Regions from separate parts of the Homo sapiens genome. Here regions 2, 3 and 4 are each linked to region 1. Evidence: promoter capture Hi-C in 16 types of primary human blood cells and fetal thymus (Javierre and others, 2016). All regions are on one chromosome and are shown on one strand. Each heading gives the region's core, a stretch centred on a gene start or on the middle of the fragment in contact. The rest is flanking DNA. Distances are from core to core; before and after follow the strand shown. Region 1 holds the start of PGM3 (phosphoglucomutase 3). Region 2 overlaps IBTK (inhibitor of Bruton tyrosine kinase). Region 3 has its middle 66 kb from the start of LINC02542. Region 4 overlaps CEP162 (centrosomal protein 162).

Evidence for each region. The method cuts DNA at HindIII sites, captures the fragments that hold promoters and counts their contacts. A CHiCAGO score of 5 or more calls a contact.
Region 2: a fragment that was not itself captured here is called in contact with the fragment with the promoter of PGM3 in region 1 in 6 of 17 cell types (M2 macrophages, fetal thymus, naive CD4 T cells and 3 more); the score reaches 8.0 in M2 macrophages.
Region 3: a contact is called between a fragment that was not itself captured here and the fragment with the promoter of PGM3 in region 1, in 3 of 17 cell types (M2 macrophages, non-activated CD4 T cells and total CD8 T cells). The highest score is 10.5, in M2 macrophages.
Region 4: a contact is called between a fragment that was not itself captured here and the fragment with the promoter of PGM3 in region 1, in 3 of 17 cell types (total B cells, total CD4 T cells and naive CD8 T cells). The highest score is 6.6, in total B cells.

The regions. Positions count from the first base shown.
Region 1 is chr6:83,191,364-83,194,609 of GRCh38, forward strand. PGM3 (phosphoglucomutase 3) reads right to left here and starts at 1,902. Exons shown (of 13, transcript NM_015599.3): 1 at 1,816-1,902. It overlaps RWDD2A (RWD domain containing 2A), which reads left to right and starts at 1,994. Exons shown (of 3, transcript NM_033411.5): 1 at 1,994-2,080; 2 at 2,949-3,246. The coding sequence starts at 3,089. RefSeq lists silencers at 1,553-1,622, 1,923-2,292 and an enhancer at 1,865-2,364. The HindIII fragment of the contact is 15,181 bases long and covers 1-3,246 here.
Region 2 is chr6:82,184,613-82,187,517 of GRCh38, forward strand. All of the region lies in intron 25 of IBTK (inhibitor of Bruton tyrosine kinase), which reads right to left. Among named protein-coding and RNA genes, the nearest start is that of IBTK, 62 kb to the right of the region's middle. The HindIII fragment of the contact is 209 bases long and covers 1,503-1,711 here.
Region 3 is chr6:82,166,340-82,169,299 of GRCh38, forward strand. No RefSeq gene overlaps it. Among named protein-coding and RNA genes, the nearest start is that of LINC02542, 66 kb to the left of the region's middle. The HindIII fragment of the contact is 1,874 bases long and covers 368-2,241 here.
Region 4 is chr6:84,212,016-84,215,159 of GRCh38, forward strand. CEP162 (centrosomal protein 162) reads right to left here. Exons shown (of 27, transcript NM_014895.4): 6 at 942-1,009. Among named protein-coding and RNA genes, the nearest start is that of CEP162, 14 kb to the right of the region's middle. The HindIII fragment of the contact is 3,592 bases long and covers 1-3,144 here.

The sequences.
Region 1 (3,246 bases), core at 652-3,151:
GCTCAAAGATCATTTCATTTTACAAAAAGGGAAACTAACCTAAATTAACATAGATAGCTGGTGACGGATTGAGGCCTAAAGTCAGATTCTTGAGTGGACTGAAACTACATATCCCCAAATATCTGAGAAATCTTTGTGGTTCTTTTGCTATTTCTCCCAAACTACAGAGACATATTCTTAAAGGAAAAGCAAAAGGCAACAGTTTCTTCTCCAAGACTACCCAGATCTTTTTCCATTTGCTAAAAACAATCAGGACACCCTTCTAAGATGTTGCTCTAAAACTAGCAATATCTTCTTCTGAAAGAATGCCACCTTTTTCCTTTACTTTTAAAAATAAAACATCGGCCGGGAGCGGTGGCTCACGCCAGTAATCTTAGCACTTTGAGAGGCCAAGGCAGGCGGATCACCTGAGGTCAGGAGTTTGAAACCAGCCTGGCCAACATGGCGAAACCGCCTCTCTATTAAAAATACAAAAAAATTAGTCGGGCGTGTTAGCTGGCGCCTGTAATCCCAGCTACTCGGGAGGCAGAGGTTGCAGTGAGCCGAGATCGCGCCACTGCACTCCAGCCTGGGTGACAAAGGGAGACTCGGTCTCAAAAAAAAAAAAAAAAAAAAAAAACAGGCCAGGTGAGGTGGCTCAGGCCTGTAATCCCGGCATTTTGGGAGGCCAAGGCGGGCGGATCACGAGGTCAGGAATTCAAGACCAGCCTGACCAACATGGTGAGACCCTTGTCTCTACTAAAAATACAAAAAGTAGCCTGGCGTGGTGGTGCGCGCCTGTAGTCCCAGCTACTCAGGAGGCTGACGCAGGAGAATCGCTTGAACCCGCGGGTGGAGGTCGCAGTGAGCCGAGATCGCGCCACTGCACTCCAGGCTGGGCGACAGGGTGAGACTCCGTCTCAAAACAAACAACAACAAAAAATCGGCCCTTAGCCCACTAATACTGTTTTCTCTGGGATACTCCCATTAAGTGGAACTTGGGGTTTCCAACCTCAGTCAGTAGTTTTCCTTCAGTAGTCCATATACTACATTTCCTGGGTCAATTAATTCCCAATTAGCCCAGAGATGAGGAGCAGTCCGCCAGCTGCTAGCCTCATAATTTTGTTTTCTTTATTGTCCTTCATTGCTTCAATGAACAGAACTTGCAAGAAATGGTGAAAAATACTTGCTTTTGTCCAGTTGGAAAAAGCTGGCATTCAGTAAACTAATTTAGTTCAAGACAGTGATCAGATCTCTTTCCTAAGGATGAATACATATTTGTAAAAACTGAGCAGTCAGTTATGTGTCATGATTATTCATAAGAGTGTAAACCAGTCCTGTTAACTCCAAAAAGCCATTAAAAAAAAAAAGGTCCAGATAATATGAGTTCATCCTTTCATGCGTTTTAGGCCCTACAACTACTTTCAATGCCTCTGCGAATGCCTTTATTGAAAGCATATTTGCCAAATCCAGCGTCCACGCAAAAAGTTAAGAGTATCCCCCTACTCTCCATTCAATCTTCAAATCTCCTTGGTGCCTCTCTCCCGCCTACCCTCGAATCACCGCACAAGGGTGATTCCCGGCACTCCACCCTGAGGTCCCCGCCTAGGTCCACGTACCAGAGCCCCGGCAGGAGACCCGCGGCCCGTCCCGACCAGCCCGCCCGCGGGGCGCAGGGGCCTGTAGGTGTGTCCCGCGCGCTCCGCCGCTCGGTCAGTCGCCCGCCAGACCACTAGCCCCTCCGTCGGGCCGAGAATCTGACCTGTCCCGCTCCCACCGAGCCCTTGCCGACCGGTAGTCTCCCTTCTCAACTCCGAGCCTCGGGGCCCGGCTTACCTCGGTCAGGAAGCCCCCTTCACCTACACGCAGCGGAGAAGCGCCCAAGCAACAACGTCTGCACCCAAACCCAGTCCTCAGAACCGCAGACGTGGCCCTGCGTGGCTTCCGGCTCGTCGCCACGCCCCCTGGCCAATCACGGCAGAGGACTATCCGCCAGCCCCGCCCCCGCCTCGCCGCAGGTCGCGCGCAGCTGGCGCCTGAGGAACTGCGGCTGCGGTTCCGAGCGGGGTCTGGGGCTGTTACCATTGAGTGACCAGAAAGGGTGAGGCCCCCGCGGTGGCCCGGGGGTTGGGGCCGAGGGTCGCGGGCCCTCAGAGCACTGCGGCCGCGGAGGCACAGCCTCCGCCTCCAAATCCGGGCCTCTGGGGGCGGCAGGCCCTGCGTTCCTGGGAAGCCGGGGTTCCTAGTGGTCTTGGCTAGGGGCGGGGGTGGGGAATCAGCCCCGTCGCTGGGCCTCGGACAGGGCGACCTCGCCCACAGTGAGCGCCGCCGGCGGCCCGCATCCCCCTCTCCGACGTCGAGGTCATCTCCCAAACCTTTGAATCTGGGAAGCCTTCTCCGGCTGCCGTCTCCCCGGGTACCCCCTTCCCCCAGCTCACTGTAAACATCTTTTATTTAATGACCTCTGAGACACCCCCTACCCTTATCCTGGGTCCCTCGGGGCAGAGGCCAGTGAATCGTAAACGTCCGGAGCCCTGGAATGCGGCCCAAGCGAAAAGGCCACCGCGGTGTTGGGGGGGGGCGGTCCGCGAGTCCAGGACCGAGGGGTGGCGACTGGCGCTGGGGAACTCGGAGCCCATCCTGCTGGCACTGCGGCCTCTCTCGCCGCAGCGTCTGGCTCCGCCCAAGCCCGAGCCCCGGGTGGGATTGGAAGCCGGGCCCCAGCCTTTCCCAGAATTCAGGCTTGCAGAGCGTCTGCAGGTGTCTGCCTGCCACCTGCAGCGGGACAGTTCCAAACACCTGTTGAAAGTGCAGATTCCCCTATCTAGTGCGGGGTGCGGGAGGCGGGAACCCGGAGCCCGGGTACGCAGAATATGGGTTTTTACGGAGTGTTTTAGAGGATGTTGTGCATACTAGATTTTGGAGTCAGGAAATAAAGAAGAGTGCAAGTGTCTGGTTTGTGCCCCTAGCTCTCGGTGCAAAGCGTTCCTGCAGAATTGCTTCCACGTAAAGGGACCTTCGGGAAATTTCGCTGGATACCGGCTGGCATTGACAAACCCAGCGTCCCTGAGCCTTGTGAGGTTTCCAGGCAGGCTGATTGCGAGGCAACATGTCTGCTTCGGTGAAAGAAAGCCTTCAGCTTCAGCTACTGGAGATGGAAATGCTGTTTTCTATGTTTCCTAACCAAGGAGAAGTAAAACTTGAAGATGTAAATGCCCTGACGAATATAAAGAGGTATTTGGAAGGCACAAGGGAGGCGCTGCCACC
Region 2 (2,905 bases), core at 357-2,856, 1.0 Mb before region 1:
CTAATACTTTCCATTGCCACACCTAACTGTCAGCAGCAGGAGTACAACTATAAACACTGGGAATTCTACAGACTAGGTGAATGAATGTGTGAACAAACTAGTGAAAATCCTACCACAACCTCAAGTATATTTAGAGTGCTAATTTGTGTTTTGCTAATGAATTGCACATTAACCTTAATATTAATGTAAACATATTTTTAAAAATCTTTTGAAGAAGTAAAATCTTATTAGATGATACTTCAGGTAATGATGTACCTTTAAGAAGGATTTTAAAAACCAGTTACATCGGCTGGGCGTGGTGGCTCACACCTGTAATCCCAGCACTTTGGGAGGCCAAGGTGGATGGATCATGACGAGGTCAGGAGTTCGAAACCAGCCTGGCCAACATGATGAAACCCCATCTCTACTAAAAATACAAAAATTAGCCAGGCATAGTGGTGTGCATCTGTAATCCCAGATACTCGGGAGGCTGAGGCAGGAGAAGTGCTTGAACCCAGGAGGCAGAGGCTGCAATGAGCCAAGATTGCGCCACGGCACTGCAGCCTGGGCGACAGAGCAAAACTCTGTCTCAGAAAAAAAAAAAAAAAAAAAAAACAGATAAATCATCACAGTCATGAATACATTCTATAAATAACAATCTGTAAATCTGATTAAAATGTTAACTTCAGCCAGGAACAGTGGCTCATGCCTGTAATCCCAACACTTTCGGAGGTGGAGACAAGAGGACTGCTGAGCCTAGGAGTTCAAGACCAGCTGGGGATATACAGACCCATCTCTACAACAAATAAAAAATTAGCTGAGCATGCTGATGCACACCTGTGATCCCAGCTACTCAGGAGGCTGAGGTGGAAGGATTGCTTCAGTCCAGGAGGTCAAGGATGCAGTGAGCCAAGATTGCACCACTGCACTCTGTCTCAAAAACAAAAAAAAAGTTCCAATTTTTTCTTTAAAACCAATGCATACGAGATATGTTCTCAGGAAAACAATCTATTCCATTTTTACTTCAAGCATATATTACAAGTATTTACATTCTATGTGTATCTGATTAAAAATCAAGTGATATACTGAATTATGTGGCTATCTCATAATTTTATAATCACATGAAAAATTATATCATATTATATTCACTCAATAATTAATGTTTTATCCAGAGTTCAGGTTAAAATACTTTGCAGCCTTCTAAGAATTCAAGAAAGAAAATTATTCAACAATTTAATAACAGTAATTTCAATTTATACTGAAGTGCTTTGCTTTGCTGTGCTTCATAGTTACTGTGTTTTTAAACAGGTTGAAGGTTTGTGGCAACCTTGCATGGAGCAAGTATATCGTGCCATTTTTCTAACAATACATGCTCACTTTGTGTCTCTGTGTCATATTTTGGTATTTCTCCTGGTATTTCAAACTTTTTCATTATTATTATATCTGTTACGGTGATCTTGATCTTTGATGTTACTATTATAATTGTTTTGGAGCACCATGAACCACATCCATACAAGTTGGCAAGCTTAATTGATAAATGTTTGTTTTCTGACTGTTACACCAATTGGCAGTTCTCCCATCTCTCTCCCTCTCCTCCTTAGGCCTCCCTATTTCCTAAGAAACAACAATATTGAAATTAGACCAACTAATAACCCTACAGTGGCCTCTAAGTGTTCAAGTGAAAGAAAAAGTCACATGTCTCTCACTTTAAATCAAAAGCTAGAAATAATTAAGCTTAGTGACGAAAGCACCACCCTGATCAGTCAGCAGTCATCAACATCAAGGCAAGATACTCCACCATAAAAAGATGATTCACTGAAGGTTCAGATGACCATTAGCATTTTTTAGCAATAAAATAGTTTTACATTAAGGTTTTTTTTTGTAGATATTATGCTATTGCACACTTAGCAAACTACGTATAGTATAAACATTACTTTTACAGGCACCAGGAAACCAAAAATTTCTTGTGACTTGCTTTATTGCGATGTTTGCTTTACTAAGGTAGTCTGGAACCGAACCTGCAGTATCTCCAAAGTATGCCTGTATAGTCTTAAAAAGAGCATAAATTACTAATTGTAGACAATTCAGATACCTCTCACCTTGATGATAATAATTCAGAATATCTATAATTCTCAAAAATTCAGATTACCCATAACATCTATAATTATCTAAATTATCTATAATTGGTCAGTTAGATAAATTTTCTTAGTGTACTAAGATACATAAAACTCATTACTCATGTTTGTACTTAAGTTTTCCAATCATGTTTTCATAAAATAAATGTATAACAAATATCACTTGTATTTGATAATTATCAAATTCTTTTTTTTTTTTTTTTTTTTGAGAAGGATTTTTGCTCTGTTGCCCAGGCTGGAGTGTGGTGGCATGATCTCAACTCACTGCAACCTCTGCCTCCCAGGTTCAAGTGATTCTCCTGCCTCAGCCTCCCAAGTAGCTGGGATTACAGGCATGCAACACCATGCTCAGCTAATTTTTGTATTTTTAGTAGAGACGGGGTTTTTCCATGTTGGCCAGGCTGGTCTCAAACTCCTGACCTCAGGTGATCTGCCTGCCTTGGCCTCCCAAAGTGCTTGAATTACAGGCATGAGCCATCATGCCCAGCCAGATAATTATCAAATTCTTTTCAAAGAAAAATAACCTATGTTTTTGGTCAAAATTTATGGCATCTTTCTTCCCATCTTTCTAGAATTCTCCTTAATATGCCATAATAGACTCTTAAAATTTGGATAGATAGTCCCTTCAATGTGGCACTCTAAGCTCATGTTGCTATTACCAAGGAAAAATTTTTCCTATGTTTGAAAATTAGTCAGAAGTTTCAGATAAATGACCACTTGAATACCTTCCTCTGAAATCCTAAAGTGTACAGCAAAGTAATCAGAAAGGTATAAACCCACAAGGGCAAAAA
Region 3 (2,960 bases), core at 55-2,554, 1.0 Mb before region 1:
CCTGGGCGACAAGAGCGAAACTCCGTCTCAAAAAACAAACAAAATCTCTACATTCTATTACTTCTCTCCATTACTTAGATCATCTTTCAGAGTCCAAGCAGGAAACAGACAGCACTTTCAACTTGGGAGAATTATTATTAAATTATTTATAAAAGTCTGGGTAGGATGTAGGAAAACCACAATGGATACTGCAGTTAGTTGGGCTAGATACAATGCAAGATCCTTTGCCATTCTTAGGCCTGAGGGTGTGGGAAAGCAACATCCCCAGAAGCTGGAGAGATTGTCATACGGAGAGAGCTGCCCGACAGGAGCTGTGACCTTCCCGATTGTGGCTCATAACAACATCATGAGAGAGGGCAGAAAAAAAAGCTTCATTCTCTTTCTCCTGCCAACACGCCAATATTCTGCTGGTGCTCCAAATGGTTATCAAGCCTGTGCATATCTTTCTCTTACGGCTCAAAATACCTACTTTAGTACACATCAGAATCACTTGGAGGGTGATAACTGGATGTCAGAGGGAAAATAAGCTGGTTGGTAAAGTCCTAGAGATTAATTTCACAAGATATAGTAGAGAACAAAGGATGGATCTGCAAATAAGCAATATCCCTTACCATATGGTCCATCTCTTTTGTTCCTCAGATTCTTATCCTTTATTTAGGTAGACACATTTATGTCCTCAACACAGGAAACATACAATCATACAAAGTCCTACAAGCTACTATTTCATAAGATTGATGTCAATTTAGTCATATTCTTCTCCTGTACACATGGAACATTCTCCAAGACAGCACATATACTAGACTATAAAAGATATTTCAACAAACTTAAAAGGACTGAAACAATACAAAATAAGTTCTCCAAATTTAACAAAATTAAATTAGCAATCAATAACAAACACATATTTGGTAAGAATTCCCAAATACTTGAAAATTAAACAATATACTTTTAAGTAATCCATAGTTCAAAGAAGAAATCAAGATGAAATTTAAAAATATTTTGAACTGAATGAAAATAAAAACATGACATATACAAATTTATGAGATGCAGCTAAAGCAGTGCTTAGAGGGAAATCTATAGGTCTACATGCCTGTATTTGAGAAAAAGAGAACTCTCTAAGCCTGAATGTATAGAAAAGAACAGCAAATTAAAGCTAAAGGAAGCAGAAAATAATAATAAAGAGAACAGAACCAAAGAAAAAGAAAAGAGAGCAGAGAAAAATCAATGAACCCCAAGCTGGTTCTTTGACTTCAATAACTTCTTTGACAACTTCAATGTTGACTGATATGGTTAAAGAAAAAAAAGAGAGAGAGAGAAAATAAAGATTACCAAAATTACAAAAGTAGGGAGGAACTTGACCACCAAACCTTATGAAATTAAAAGGACTGTAAGGCACTACTATGAACAAACTAGACAACTAAGATGAACCAGATAAATTCCTAGAAAGAACAAATTATTGAAACTGAATAAAGAACATATAGAAAATCTCAACAGGCCTGTAATATGTAAAGAAATAGAAAAAATAATAATAATTTAAAATCTTCCCACAAAGAAAATCCCACACCTGGATGATTCCACTAGTTAATTCTATCAAATATTTAAATAAGAAATAATACCAATCATTTATGAACACTTCCATAAAAGTGAATCCTTCCCAATTCACTCTATAAGGCTGCTATTACAGTGATACCAGAGTAAAAGATAGGAAAAAAAAAGGAAAAGAAAAAGAAAACCACAGACCGATATCTCTCATGAATACAGATGCAAAAGTCTTCATTGAAATGTTAGCAAATCAAATCCAGGACCTCTTTCTGAAGTGCTGTCATGGTCCACTTCTTGACTTACTGGTAAATTACTTAGCTAAATATTTTTGTCTTGTGCACTTACCTCTTTATGTTATGGTTCAAGATTTTAAAAGATTTAAACATACACATATACAAGAAAGAAAAGAATGCCTAGTCTATGTTCTCAAAGTACAAGTAATTTAGTAAAAGACTAGATTAATAGAAAAACAAAAGTAATGGCAGAATATGACAAGTACCCTGAAAGGTATAGGGTTACAAGGAAATGAGAACATAGCTGATCCATGTATGCTACTGTTTTTATGTTACTTTATGTTTGAGGGTGTATGGAGGGAAACCAGAAAAACTATAAAGGAAAGAGAATTTTGATTGCCTTAATTATGGATAGGTAGAATTTTATCTGAAGAAAAAGAAAAATTTAGGTAGAGATCAGCATGAGCAAAGCTTGAACCATATTTGGGAGAAACATCAGGTCAAGTTTGGCTCCACCACTATATGTACAATTTTTTTTTGAGATGGGGTCTCACTCTGTCACCCAGGCTGGAGCACAGTGGCATGATGTTGGTTCACTGCAACCTCCGCCTCCCTGACTCAGGTGATCCTCCTACCTCAGCCTCCTAAGTAGCTGGGATTACAGGCGCCCACTACCACATTTGGCTAATTTTTGTATTTTTAGTAAAGACGGGGTTTCACCATGTTGGTCAGCCTGGTCTTGAACTCCTGGCCTCAAGTGATCCACCAGCATCGCCCTCCCAGAGTACTGGAATTATAGCATGAGCACCACGCCCGGCCAGCTTTCTTCAATTTATAAAATGAAGAGAATATACATTAAAATTAATCAATAAGGCTTCAGATCTAAAATTTTATGAAAGAGCTATTTACACCTTATCATGAACAAATATATACACCCTGGCCTCCAAAACAGTTAAAGGGAATCAACCCAGACATAACTAGCAATGCTTTCTCAAATGACTGGATATTGCTCCTATATAAAGCTAGGTTTTCTTAAATTTATTTTAAAAACCATCTCTTTAGGACTTGAAGAAGAGTCCTGAATCCCAATATTTTGTCAACAAATTTGACTTTACCTGATTAGCAGTCTTCTTGATTTTGCAAGTTTTAAGCATATTCTGCCTCTGACATACCCTTATCCCAATGTCC
Region 4 (3,144 bases), core at 229-2,728, 1.0 Mb after region 1:
TAAAATCATTAAACTGCCCGAAGGAAAAAAAAACACTACATAAAATTCTGTATCAAGTAAAAGTATTCCTCAAAAACAAAGGCAGAGTATATTTTCAGACAAACAAAAGCTGAGAGAACTTGTTCCTAGCAGTAACCTGCACTACAAGAAATGTGAAAGGAGGCTCTTCGTGGTGAAGAAAAATAATTTGAGATAAATTCAAATCTACACAATGGAATACAAAGCACTGGGAATGGTAAATATATGGATAAATACACATTTTTACATAAATATCTATTATATTCCTTAAAAGTACTTTTAAATGATAATTGATTGCTTTAACAACAATAATAATAATGCACTGTGGTGTTTTTAAGACATGTAGAAGAAAAACGTTGACAAAAATAGCAAAATGGTTGAGGAGAGTTTATTGTTGTTAGAGTTCATATAAATACAGTGATATAACATTATTTGAAAGTAGATTGTGATAAGGTAGACATATATTGTGACTCATAGGGCAACTAAGAAAAAAATACAACAAAGAAGAATAGCTAAAAAGCCAAAATAAGAATAAAATGGAATACTATAAGTAATACAATAGAAGGAAGGACAAAAGCAACAAAAACAAGAAGATGAAAAGAAAACAAATGGCAAAACCGTAAACAACTATATCAATAAATACACTGCTGTAAAGGGTAAAAACACATCAATTAAAAGGCAGAGACTGTCAGATTGAACAAAAATGCTAAAACCAGCTATATGCAGTCTATGAAAAAAACCTTTTTAAGGCAGTTCACTTTCAACAATTTCTTAGCAGCTCAGTTTATAACACAGGCAAACCCACTCTATTCAAAGCTCTGAGACAATATGATTTTCCTTTTAATTATTTTTCTTATTAATGTCTTTATTAAAAGCTATATTATCTTTTCAAATATTATAAATTTAAGAACCAATGAAATTACCTGCCAGTTCTTCATGTTTCGATTCATTCTCATGTTCGTCATCAGTTAGTTCTGCGTTGGCTTGATTACTGGAAAAAATATTTATTTAATTTAGCATTACATGTTAAAAACATATTCTCATGCAACTCTTTCTGTATACCGTTTTAAAAAATCCCTAAAATTATACATGTCCTCTCTCAAGTCCTTTTGTTCTATCAAAAGCTAAAAATTTGGGAACTTTAAGGAAAACGTTTTGAAAATAAAGCATCTTCGAAGCATTTGATTAATTGCAGTTTAAAAGTAATACAAAGGAAAAAGATGCCCTATTTCTTAAATATACACAATTTTATTACTATGTGCATTTACATGTACAAATATTATCTTACAACCCTAGATATCCCTTCTACACTAAAGATTAGAAACTGACCACAAGCTATGAGAACCAGTGAAGTCCATATGAAAGCCAGAAAAAAAATGCTAAGGTCAGCACTTACATGCTAATAAGCAATTTAATCCTGAAACAGAAGCTGAATAGGAGCCTTAAAACAAAACCTAAGCAAGGGGACAAAGGAGCTTGAGTATGATTTAATTATATTGGATGTATTAGTTCATATACTGCTTTCTCTCAAACCAAGAATCAGTTCTACCTTTTCAGTCTATCAACCCTATTTAGTGAGATCGTTAGAGAAACTATAAGACTATATAATAATGATGAGAGCTACAAACACCTAATATTGCATGTTCAATGCTATTCTGTACTTTGACCGGCCTGTTCTACAGCAGAAATATCAATAGATAAGAATACTGTTAAGAAATAAGAAAAAAGTTAAAAAATGTAGCAAAGTGGCAAAAAGTTGTGGCCCACAAACCCGCGCATGCTTAATCTGTATTGACAACGTTGGGAGAGGCAATGACCATAGGCCCTGAGTGTCCCTGCACATTCTTGCTGAATATGCCAAGAGTACAAGATGCTGATCATTTTTCACCATGCCATTTGGGTAACATTTCCGACCAAACAAAGAGCAGGCTTGTTTCCACTTACTATAAAAGTAATACATTTTCGCTGGGCGCGGTGGCTCATGCCTGTAATCCCAGCACTTTGGGAGGCTGAGACAGGTGGATCACAAGGTCAGGAGATCGAGACCATCCTGGCTAACACAGTGAAACCCCTTCTCTACTAAAAAATACAAAAAATTAGCCAGGCGTGGTGGCAGGCGCCTGTAGTCCCAGCTACTCGGGAGGCTGAGGCAGGAGAATGGTGTGATCCCGGGAGGTGGAGCTTGCAGTGAGCCAAGATCGTGCCACTGCACTCCAGCCTGGGCGACAGAGCGAGACTCCGTCTCAAAAAAAAGTAATACATTTTCCAAGCTCAGTGTTCCTCTTCTGTAACACAGCCCATTGTGTGTGAATACATCCATTATGGATCCTTTGACTTGCCCTCAGCATAATCATAGGGCATGGGGAACCAATGCGAACAAATGCGACACTCAGGTACTGCCTTTGTTCTTTAATTCTGATCCAGGAATCTTCTGTCTATTGTCAACATCATAAAACCGGAAGGCTAGCTTGTTAGCTTGCCAAGTAGGGTAAAAATCTCAGACCCCGCAAAGTTCATGAAGGTAAATGCATTTCTTTATCCACTGTCTATAAAAAACTAACCATCCTGCAGAGCCTAGGCACTCTAATAATCAGAGATTATGATTCTCCTGACCCTTAATTATACCTTTGTGATCTCAAAATCCTAAATAAAATTATGATCTTCTTTCCATTCATAATTTTAAGAATTACATGGATAACTAAATAAGGGCATTAAAGACCTCAGGTTTCAAAGGTCTTGAGAATGGCAATGGTCTAGTGTAATAAAGAGAGGACCAGTTCAGTGAACTAGTGGGATTTCTAGAATAAATGAGGTTTCCCGATAACCATCAGGGCCAACCATACAGAGGTTAAGACACAGATCAAACTTGTCTTTGCTCCTTGGTTCCCACTTCCCTTTCTGTTATTTTTTTTCCTGAGTTTATAATGGTAACCTGGACTCTCTTTATTTGTCTGTGGAAAATGAATTAATAAATGACTTTCCTAGTAAGGACTTCTTGGCAATGTACTATTAGTCTCAATAGCATGAAATTTCAGATTGTGGAGGCAGCATGGGCTCTCAAATACCAAGAAACATATTCTACTCACACATAAGAAAAACCCTAACTATAAAATGAACAGATAATAG